4 separate regions of the Homo sapiens genome follow, and regions 1, 3 and 4 are each linked to region 2. The links are contacts of gene promoters, found by promoter capture Hi-C in blood cells and fetal thymus (Javierre and others, 2016). All regions are on one chromosome and are shown on one strand. The core of a region is centred on a gene start or on the middle of the fragment in contact, and the rest is flanking DNA. Distances in the headings are between cores, read along the strand shown. Region 1 overlaps MATR3 (matrin 3). Region 2 holds the start of BRD8 (bromodomain containing 8). Region 3 overlaps LOC124901081 (a long non-coding RNA gene). Region 4 overlaps MATR3 (matrin 3).

What was found. The method cuts DNA at HindIII sites, captures the fragments that hold promoters and counts their contacts. A CHiCAGO score of 5 or more calls a contact.
Region 1: a contact is called between a fragment that was not itself captured here and the fragment with the promoter of BRD8 in region 2, in 2 of 17 cell types (erythroblasts and fetal thymus). The highest score is 5.6, in erythroblasts.
Region 3: a contact is called between a fragment that was not itself captured here and the fragment with the promoter of BRD8 in region 2, in 3 of 17 cell types (fetal thymus, non-activated CD4 T cells and total CD8 T cells). The highest score is 8.1, in fetal thymus.
Region 4: a fragment that was not itself captured here is called in contact with the fragment with the promoter of BRD8 in region 2 in 1 of 17 cell types (monocytes); the score reaches 5.5 in monocytes.

What each region holds. Positions count from the first base shown.
Region 1 is chr5:139,304,222-139,306,980 of GRCh38, forward strand. All of the region lies in intron 1 of MATR3 (matrin 3), which reads left to right. Among named protein-coding and RNA genes, the nearest start is that of MATR3, 12 kb to the left of the region's middle. The HindIII fragment of the contact is 234 bases long and covers 1,220-1,453 here.
Region 2 is chr5:138,177,180-138,179,879 of GRCh38, forward strand. BRD8 (bromodomain containing 8) reads right to left here and starts at 1,451. Exons shown (of 27, transcript NM_139199.2): 1 at 1,417-1,451; 2 at 392-488. The coding sequence starts at 1,435. KIF20A (kinesin family member 20A) reads left to right here and starts at 1,933. Exons shown (of 19, transcript NM_005733.3): 1 at 1,933-2,023; 2 at 2,481-2,666. The coding sequence starts at 2,502. RefSeq lists enhancers at 1,401-1,695, 1,403-1,452, 1,593-1,762. The HindIII fragment of the contact is 9,650 bases long and covers 1-2,700 here.
Region 3 is chr5:139,270,556-139,273,306 of GRCh38, forward strand. LOC124901081 (a long non-coding RNA gene) reads right to left here. Exons shown (of 4, transcript XR_007058956.1): 4 at 2,512-2,751. Among named protein-coding and RNA genes, the nearest start is that of SNHG4, 2.2 kb to the right of the region's middle. The HindIII fragment of the contact is 259 bases long and covers 1,214-1,472 here.
Region 4 is chr5:139,328,258-139,330,957 of GRCh38, forward strand. It overlaps MATR3 (matrin 3), which reads left to right. Exons shown (of 15, transcript NM_018834.6): 15 at 1,088-2,700. The coding sequence ends at 1,138. Among named protein-coding and RNA genes, the nearest start is that of PAIP2, 12 kb to the right of the region's middle. The HindIII fragment of the contact is 2,281 bases long and covers 129-2,409 here.

The DNA of each region.
Region 1 (2,759 bases), core at 87-2,586, 1.1 Mb after region 2:
TCGGGCCAGGCGTGGTGGCTCATGCCTATATAATCCCAGCACTTTGAGAGGACGAGGCAGGGGGATCACCTGAGGTCGAGACCAGCCTGACCAACATGGAGAAACCCCGTCTCTACTAAAAATACAAAATTAGCTGGAAGTGGTGGTGTGTGTCTGTAATTTCAGCTACTTGGGAGGCTGAGGCAGGAGAATCACTTGAACCTAGGAGGCAGAGGTTGCAGTGAGCTGAGATCGTGCCATTGCATTCCAGCCTGGGCATCAAGAGTGAAACTCCATCTGAAAAAAAAAAAAAAAGAATTTGGTTATCAAGATTGTAGTAAATGGCATTTGTGTAGTGAAATTGTGGGTAATGTTGATAGTTTTTAGGGGGGTGCAGGTGCTTTCTTTTTTGGAAGTGAAGGGTTCTGCATTGATGGGCATTTACACTAGTATATAGAGATTTTAAATAGGTAAATTGGATTTTGATAATAAATGTTCTCCCAAAGCTACTATATTTAAAATTGTTTTAACCTCTAGTGCAGTTTCCTATAGAAAGGCAATTTTATAATTACAGGAAAAAACAATACAGTAAAAGGAGCTAATCTTTTGTAAATCTTTAGTAAGTGTCTCCATATTGTGCTGCCTTTGCTAATAGGCAGTGGGGCCCATGTGAATGAGCCTTTAAAAGTGGCTTGTACATCTTATGTTCAGCATTGACATGATAGAGGAACTGTTTTCATTAATGCTTTTTCAACAATGTTGCCACATCTGGTTTCTCCCAACTTTGTTCTAATAAAACCATTTTTAAGAATTTGGTTTATTTGTGGTTTAATCCAAAATCTAACTTAAGTTGCTTTTCACTAATTTTACCCTAATATCCTTGATGGAGCTGCATTTTACGTTGAAACTGAGTATCTTAAAACTACTAAGGTGGTTATGGAATTACACGTTGTCATGGGATTTACATTGTTTGTCTTGACTCTTTTCTGAGTTTTTCTGACATTCATTTTCTGTTTGTCTTAAGGTTATCCTTTACCTTTGCTTCTCTTAACTTTTTCCTTTTGTTGATCCACTGTTTTCCTATGAGCTACCAAAAAATGTAATTCAGAGCTCTGTAGTCTAACAGTCACATTTCCTTAAAATATGGCCGTTTTAAAAATTTTAAACATAATTGTAATACCATTATATAATTTCTCTTAGGGAAAAAATAATTCAAAAGACTGACTTTTCAGTAATGCAAAGCTTTGGCTACAACATGAAGGTCAAAGCTGCAATTAATAACCCTGATACTTCAACATTTTTATTTTGAAAAACCCTCTAAAGGATTTGATTTGTAAAAATATGTGTGAAAATTTAGAGGGTCCACCACCATTTACATAGCATCTCAGCCGCCATTCTGTCTGGCATTTATAAGACATATCAAAGAAACTTTCATCTGAAGAAGTCCACTTATTCTCGTCTTTATTAATCTTAAAGCTTAAGTAGTTTACATAGTGGATCTTGTCTAGAACTATTAATAGTTTCTTTGGTGTATTTTCTCAAATTCATCTTTCTTGGTGTGCAAAAACATCTTCCTGTAACTCCAGCCACCTCTTATAGCATTTCTGTGTCTTTTAAAACTTGATTATATCTATTTTTTAAAATCCAGTCTAAATCTTTCTTGCCTGCAACTTTTTTTATACTTCCTTTGCCACTGTATTTGTCCATTGTATCCTTGCTTTAATCTATCATTGGTGAAATTGATCCTGTAATAGACTTGTAACTACTGGATATTGTCTGGTTTTACTGTTAAAGTTTCACATATTAAGCTACCAGTGCTGAGTGTATTGGTGATCAAAAAATAGAAAATTTAAGCAATGCCTCATAGAATTCTGTACCAAACAACTTCAGATTTACCTCTGTATGTAGTTGTGATTATAAAATTGTTTCACTGAAGATGTTATGTATATCTTTCAACTAATATTTTATGACAATCGTGATATAAAAGATTTGGAAATTCTTATGTGACAGTTTCTGAGGTACAACAATAATGATTTAAGAAAGAAAACAATTTCATCTAGAAACACGTCTTGGGGGATCATAATCAGAACATAAATTTACCAGGTGATTTGGGCTATTCTTGTGAAAAGTTTACAGGAAACTGTGTAACCAAGATCTCATTTTCATTTTTACCTGTTTTGTGCTCTAGATGTGCTGTAGCCCTGAGCATTAAATGAGTACTGATGGATGCTGATTTGGGGAGTTCCCTTCTTTAAATCACCTGTATTTCCTGTACCTAGGTTTTTTCTTGGGAGGGCTCCTATTCCTGTACTGACCAGAGTTAGTTCTCCTTACTTTAAAAGACTAGATATGAAGTAAACACTGCCTGATGTAGGATGGTCAGTAAGAAGGCAATTAGTTGTATAACTTAAATTTGGGCAGCAATCCTTAAAACTATAGGAAATGACTTATTTTTCTTATTCACATCTATCTTCACCTCAAATTGATTTTGCTGTATAAAGGTCTCAGCTATTATGTTTGGTCTTATATCTTACATTAGGTACTTGAAACCTAAGCTTCATTTACTTGTGATTTTACTTGGTTCTTTCTGATAGTGATAATAGGTCTCATTTTCCAAAGCACAGTACAACTGATTCATCTTTGACTTGCTGACCTTGATTTTTTTGTTTTTAGTCTTCTGGAACTTAAGCATCATACTATAGGGTGTATTTTTATTCTTCTAAAAGAAGAAACCCATCTATATTTTTACTGAAATTTTGATGTACTCAGACATCTAACCT
Region 2 (2,700 bases), core at 201-2,700:
GATTGAGACCATCGTGGCCAACATGGTGAAACCCCGTCTCTACTAAAAATACAAAATTAGCCAGGCATGGCCAGGCGCAGTGGCTCACACCTGTAATCCCAGCACTCTGGCAGGCCGAGGTGGGGGGATCACCTGAGGTCAGGAGTTCGAGACCAGCCTGGCCAACATGGCGAAACTCTGTCTCTACTAAAAAATACAAAAATTAGCTGGGCGTGTCCGCACCACTGCACTCCAGCCTGGGCAACAGAAGGAGACTCAGTCTCAAAAAAAGAAGAAAAAGAAAAGAAAGTCTACTTACAGCTTAATATGATTAACTATAGAAATCTACCGATGTGAAAGAGTATCTAACAATTTCTAAGACCCAGAAAAGCTGACATCCTAGATACCTTACCAATTTTGATCGCCACTTCTCATGACAGAAGATGCTAAACATAGCTTCTCTCGGATGGACCATGGCTCTGTGGGGCCAGTGCTTAGCAGCTTGTGTTCTGGGAAAGGGAGAAAAAAAAAAAAGCCTTGGAAACAACCACTGAGACTGTAGTGCTAAGCTCCAAAATCCCCAAAAAGAGGACTAAAAGCCTAATACAAAACATCCCAACTTGTTAGGACAAAGTGAGCTACTATAACCAAATCTTGATTTTCACCTCTCCAAGTGAAATATCACCAGTGACCGGGGTACCTATTCGTTGCATGTGAATTATTAACATTTTATTTCTTAAAACGCCATGGCTTGAAGCTCCGCTTTATTAAGAAACAGGGAATGTCAGATTAGGCAGTTCTCCCTAAAAGCCCAGTTTTAAGAATACTGGACTTTATTCCAGTTTGAACTTATTCAGGGCTTATTTCCCAGGAACCCGAGCGGCCAGCCCCTCCTACTACCCCGCCTCCCTCTTAGCATAAACTTGTTTACTTCTCTCAGATCCTCTACTCCAAATGTCGGGGGTAAAAGAGCTTTTCAGTCCAAAAAAAGAAAAATGGCTGAAATCCCCGAGATGCAATTTCCTGAGTGGCAAGAAAAGCTCATGGTTAAAAGACCCCACTTCCACTGCCTCACAAACGTCAGACAAAAAAATGAATGGCTCTTTGAGGTGCCGGTTACTCCGTCTGGCTCATAACATCTTTTCGTCTGCACGCCCAAGTTTCTAGAGTGCTTTTACGGTTAACCCGCAGAGTTCCTAACACACTAGGATTCACTAAGCTGCTTCTCTCACACCTCCGCTCTCTCCCTGAGAAACAAGACCCCAGATTTCTGGGCCCCCAAACGTTGGTCTTCACGATGCTGTAGAGCGCAGGTCTCTGAAAACCCTGGGCTCTCAAGCAACCCACTTCTCCCACTCCCTAAGCGTGTAACAAAAATATGGTGCCTAGCCTCGGATCTACAAAGGCCTTTCACGCAAAACCTGCTCAGATACTCACTGCCCGTTCCCGTCGCCATCTTGGCCCCGAAGTCTCCAACCCTGAGGAGAGACGGTCTGGAAGGGCCGAAACCCTGGAATTCTGGGAAATAGTGTACCGGCGTTGGTTCGCGGTGCCTCCTGGGAAATGTCGTTTTTCCCCTTAAGACAAAGCAAGCACCCTAAACCAGTTACCCTGTGCACTCCTGTTAAGATTGTTGCTAAGGAAGGACAGGAGTTGGCTGCTGAAGCCTCAAGATTTCCTTTAGGCTCTTAGGTAAGAAATGTCTAAGGTTCAAGGAAAAAGGTTAAGTTGGAAGAATCCCAGGCAAAATAAGTGCGAATCCACGACAGTTGGTAACCCGGACCCACATTAGAACTCAGAGGTCAAGCAGAAGCGAACGACTGGAATTCCAGTCAGGCCCGCCCCCTTTCCTTACGCGGATTGGTAGCTGCAGGCTTCCCTATCTGATTGGCCGAACGAACGCAGCGCGTAATTTAAAATATTGTATCTGTAACAAAGCTGCACCTCGTGGGCGGAGTTGTGCTCTGCGGCTGCGAAAGTCCAGCTTCGGCGACTAGGTGTGAGTAAGCCAGTATCCCAGGAGGAGCAAGTGGCACGTCTTCGGGTGAGTGTGCGGCTGTGCTGGAGCCCGGGTTACCAGCTCTTGCCCGCGCGGAATAGGCTTTAAGAAATCGGAGCTGCAGCCATCTGTTTTTCTCTTAATGCTGCATCTCTGTTCTCACGGTGGTCCTTGGGGTGAGGTTAGAGAAGGAGCCGAGGGATCCTGACACCACCTCCACAGCACCGGCGGGCGAGGTGCCCTACTTTAGGCGTAGCCTTCTGCTTTTGGAGCCAGATGTCTGTGGACTTCTGTTCGCGTTCAGAAATGCCGCCTCAAACTTCTCTCAATTGTTCATTAAGTGAACTTCTCTCATTCCCTTCCCCTTTGCCGATAATTGGAGGGGAAAAGAAGTAGGAAGCGGGACACGGTGTCCTGGGGCAAGGGACTTATTACCTAAAATTCGCGGCCCCTTCTGTCCCTAAAGGTTCTTCTCCCTGCCCACTTTTTGGTCTCTTTTTAGACCTAGGCTGCCCCTGCCGTCATGTCGCAAGGGATCCTTTCTCCGCCAGCGGGCTTGCTGTCCGATGACGATGTCGTAGTTTCTCCCATGTTTGAGTCCACAGCTGCAGATTTGGGGTCTGTGGTACGCAAGAACCTGCTATCAGACTGCTCTGTCGTCTCTACCTCCCTAGAGGACAAGCAGCAGGTAAAGGAACTGGGGAGTGGCTGGGGCGGAAAGT
Region 3 (2,751 bases), core at 93-2,592, 1.1 Mb after region 2:
TCTTAATGTTTTCAAGGTTCATCTATGTTATAGCATGAATCAGTACATGATTCATTTTTTTCTTTTTTTCTTTTGAGACAGAGTCTTGCTCTGTTGCCAGGCTGAAGTGCAGTGGCTCCATCTCTGCTTGCTACAATCTCCGCCTCCCGGGTTCAAGCCGTTCTCCTGCCTCAGCCTCCCAAGTAGCTGGGACTACATGCACAAGCCACCACACCCAGCTAATATTTTGTATTTTTAGTAGAGATGGGGTTTCACCATGTTGGCCAGGCTGGTCTCAAACTCCTGACCTCAAGTGATCCGCCTGCCTCAGCCTGCCAAAGTGCTAGGATTACAGGTGTGAGCCATCACGCCTGGCCTCTTTTTTTTTTTTTTTTTTTTTTGAGACAGAGTTTCACTGTCACTCAGGCTGGAGTGCAATGGCATGATCACAGCTCACTGCAGCCTCAATCTCCCAGGCTTAAGCAATCCTCTCACCTTAGCCCCCTAAAGTAGCTGGGACTACAGTTGTGTATCACCATGCCCACCTAATTTTTTTATTTTTTGTAGAGATGGGGTCCCATCTCTATGTTGCCCAGGCTGGTCTTGAACTCCTGGGCTCAAGCAATCCTCTTGCCTTAGCCTCTTCAAAGTGCTGGGATTACAGGATTAATTCCCTTTTATGGCCAAGTAATAGTCCATTGTGTGGATATGCCACATTTTGTTTATCCATTCATCAAGTAATGAACGTTTGGTTTTGGAGGGCTATTATGAATAATGCTGCTGTAAACATTTCTGTATAGGCTTTTGTGTGACGGGCTTTAATTTCTCTTGGGTACATACCTAGGACTGGAATTGCTGAGTCATAAAGTAACTCTGTGTTTAATCATTTGAGGAACTGCCAGACGGTTTTCCAAAGCAGCTGCACCATTTTACATTCCCACCAGCAGTGTATGAGGGTTCCAATTTCTCCACATCCTTGCCAATCCAACTATGCTTTTGAGAAATAACAAGGACAACTGAAGAGCCCCACTCTAATTGGGTAGCTAGTACATAGCAGCAAGAGGAGTGCAGGGATGGAGGAGGGGTCCCTCCTCTACTCTAAGCCCTTAGGATCAGCCAGAGAGAATACAGCTATCTCTAGTACTCTTCCTGACCCCCTAGGCTATGTTAGCTGCCCCCAGACATGTGACCAAGTATACATATAGTACTTGTCATTCTTCTCCTCTAGACTGTAAGCTTTAGGCAGGCAGGAATCTCTATTGTTCTGACTTTATCTGCAGCATCTGAACAGAGTCTGGCACATGATAGATGTTTCGTAAATGTTGATTGACTGAGTGACTGACTAACTGAACAAATGACTAGATATTTCTCTACTGGTGGTTTTTCTCCCTGTTCAGGGAGAAAGAAAAAGAGCAGTCTTAGAGGCAGAAAGCATCAAGGAGGGAAGCAGGAATGAGAGGAGAGATGGAGGATAAAGAGAAAGGCAGGGAAGAAGCTTGGGGACCTGGTGTCACTTGAGGTCAGCTTTAAGTTATGAGGTCAAACTCAGAGCTAATGGACTTCCCCTAGTCCTTTGCTTTCCATCTAGCTGCATCTTTTTTTCTAGAAATGTTCCCTTTTATTTTTTGTTATTATTCTCAATAATTTTGTCTTTGCAAGAAGAAACAAAAAAGTAGAAAAATAGTTGATATTACAGGTAAAAAAAACATAAATCAACCCATCAAAATTAATTCAGAATTTAAAAGGATGGAAGTCAAAAAGGTTGACTATGAAGGATTTTTAAGTTGGAAACAAAATCTTCATCTAGGTTTTTCTCCAAAGGTCATTGAAAGACCTATAGCCCAAAAAGTTGACCACTTGTTCAACAGGACATGAAAATATGGCTTACCTCACAGCCTTATTTATAATGGCTGGCCTTCCACATAAATCCTGCCTTCTACCTGGACTAATCTGAATCCAGTCATCACCAGATTATTGGTCCCTCTCTCCCCAAAGGTCTGCATAGCTCCCTGTCCTCAGTTACTTCTTGTCTCTTCTCTGAAAGCACACATGCACATTCACACACACACATACACACACACACACACACACACACACACACCCTATCTTTCCTTTTCATGAATCTTCAGGGTAGCTCTGCCCTCTCCACTTTGTGTGTTTGGAAGGAAAGAAAGCGAAATATATGAGATGCCAATGCAATTTCTCCTTTAGCAGAGCTCGGTAGGACAATTACCCACCCAATCTGCCTGGTTTTATAGCTCTCATAACCTTCCTTTATGAACACGCTGTGACAGCCGGATGTGGGCATTGATTATGGCAGCAGTCTTCAGCCACATTCCTATTTAACTGCAAAGCAGAGCTCCTGCCTACCAGCCCAGCACTGGTCATGTGACTTTTTAAATTACTGTATTTATGTAAGCCTTTTCCCAACCAGAGCCTATGTCCAACTGCATCAAAACTGGGGAGGATTTGAGCTTGCCACTTCCCCTCCAGTGGCTCTTTGGCCCTACAGCCTAGGGTCTCTTGCTGGAATCAAACTGGGGCTCTGGGCTTTCTTAGGAGAGGTCTGCAAGAGTTGGGGTGCACAAGAAGCATACCTTTTTCATTATGAAAGAGCTGAGGAAATAGACAATGAAACATGTTGGCAGATGCCAAGGGCAGTGGCTTGGTTCCCAGGGGTTCACCTGGCAATGGTGCCAGGTGCAAGAGATCAGCAAAACTTACAGGATTGGTTGTTGTTGTTGGGGGGCGGGTGTCGGAAAGGAATTTGGG
Region 4 (2,700 bases), core at 19-2,518, 1.2 Mb after region 2:
TTTCCTAACTGGATGTTTGTGGGGTGATTTTTTGTTGTTGTTGTTTTTCTTTAAAAGATATAATGGCTTTTAATTCTTACTATTTTGCATTAACTATATAAAGTTGAAATTCCAATGAGATGGAAAGAAGCTTTGGACATTTTAGGTTAGATTTTTTAATATGTCTTTTGTACTTTCATTAGTGTCTTAATGGAGCTCCCGTGTCTAGAAACTCTAGCAGTCACAGGTTTAATGGCAGGGGTCAGCAAGCTACACTCGTGGCTCAGTCATCTGTTTTTGTAAGGTTTTATTAGAACCCACAGCCATAATCATTTAAGTGTCATCTATAGTTGTTTTAGTTTATAATTGAGTGCAGGATTGAGTAGTTGTAACAAAGACTGAATGGCCCAATGAGTCTAAAATATTTACTGCTGGCCTTGCAAGAAAATGTTTGTTCAGGTGATTTAATGAGTAGTGCATTGAGGCCAGATGTGATAGCTCTTGCCTGTAATCCCAGCACTTTGGGAGGCGGGGACAGGCAGATCACCTGAGATCAGGAGTTTGAGACCAGCCTGGCCAACACGGTGAAAACCCCGTCTCTACCAAAAGTACAAAAAAATTAACTGGGCTTGGTGGCGGGTGCCTGTAATCCCAGCTGCTTGGGAGGCTGAGGCAGGAGAATCACTTGAACCTGGGAGGTGGAGGTTGCAGTTAGCCGAGATCACGACACTGCACTCCAGCCTGGGCAACAGAGCAAAACTCTCCCTCAAAAAAAAAAGAATAAAAGTGCATGTCATTTAAACCCATAGTTCTTGAATAGTGTCAGTTCAGTGTGACTGTGGTCTTTGTTTTCTCATCTCTAAAAATTAGGGTTAATTATAACATTTGAAATACCCATTTTATACCTTTTACCATTTTTTCCCCGTGCCTTATTGTAATGTCCTGAAAGTTTTTGTGTGCTAATGAGGATTAACTAATTGTTGAAAATATTGACAAAATTATAGTTTAAGTCCCTAAACTTGGATATAGGATATTTGATTTTGGAATTAATCCATTTTGCTGCATTTCTCTTAGGTGACTTAATGGCTGTAATTCTCTTTCTTTATAGAAATTTCTGAATAAATTGGCAGAAGAACGCAGACAGAAGAAGGAAACTTAAGATGTGCAAGGAGATTTAATGATTTCAAAGAAAATAATGGTTCTTTGTTTTTAATGTTAACCTTTTTTAAATACAATACTGATAGTTAGAAGAAAACTATTGTACTCTTTTGTTTTAGTGGAGAAATAATAGATGTCTGTTCATGTGTTAAGTGTTATAGCAAAAAAAATACACATATGGTTAAGTTAATGAATAGTTTTTGTTTTATCAGAATGGCAACAGACAGAAGTACTTTGTAGAGATTGACTTCCTAAGCTACTTAAGACAACTTGCACCACTAAGAAAAAAATGTAGAACCATTTGGAAAAATGAAATTTAGTAGTTCCAAGTTTCAAAGAAATGTCAACATTTTATTCCATTCAATAAAGAACAAAACCAATAGTGTTTTTATTACTTTCATCTGAAACATTCCATGTTTTAATCTGAGCCTTGCAGACTTTCATTTGGAGTTTGAACCCGTTTTGGTTGCATTTCATTTTTGGAGAACTTAATTAACGTGAGATTGGCAATTGAAATGCAGGTGCAGTTTTCTGTTAATGTCATGCTGTTGTTTAGGTAATAAGAAATATTAAGTAATTGGCTTTAGATTTTGTAATTTTTTTCCCTGAGTTCCTGCTAGATTTCGTATTCTAGTAGTCAATGTATTTTCAGTGAAATGCAAAAATATTCCCGTTATCTTTGACCAGTATTAATTTTTGAGATCTTACTGCTTGTCACTTGAATCCCGTGATTGTCATACATCTCTGGTATAAGCAACATTTGATTTTTGAAGTGTGTAGACCATCTCTTCATATTTTCAAGATGTAATTTTACATTTCTGCATTTTTAAAACAGTTTGGCCATAATCCTAGATGCACGCTTCTAATTCATGTACCTGCACATGTGACCTTTGTGAACAGAAATTTGCATGTATAATTTGTGTTTACTTGTAACTTTCTGGTTATATACTGCTTATATCTGTGGATTCAAGTTACTGAAGTGAATACCAATAAAAAGAAAACCCTAGGCCATGTTAATTGGTTATACATGTTTGGAATGTTAACCAACGTATTTGTCAGTTGTGGTTTTTATTCGCTCTTAAACTTTGTGCATGCTTTAACAATTTATTACTTTTAAATCTAGAGTGAATTCTAAAGACTGCCGCTAAAGATCTGAGTTTTAAAAATGTTGTTGCTGGTGGATTTCTTGTTCCTGTTACATAACTAAAAGTGAGGCCATTTGTGGTTTTTAAAAACCTTATGAATTAAAAATGCTACAGGTGAACAAACAGAAGCTTATGTTTAGAGATATTGATGACTTAACAGTACAATTGGAAGTAATACGGATGAGCAAGAATTAGTTCTGCAGCTTTTCAAAATAATTACGTAGAGACTCTTGGTATATTGGATTATCTGTTGTAAACAATTTTTTTTTCTTCCCTGACACAGGGTCTCACTCTGTCACCCAGACTGGAGTGCAGTGGCACAGTTCTCTGCAACCTCAGCCTTTGGGCTCAAATGACCCTCCTACCTCAGTCTCCTGAGTAGCTGGGACTACAGGCTCATGCCACTATACCTGGCTAG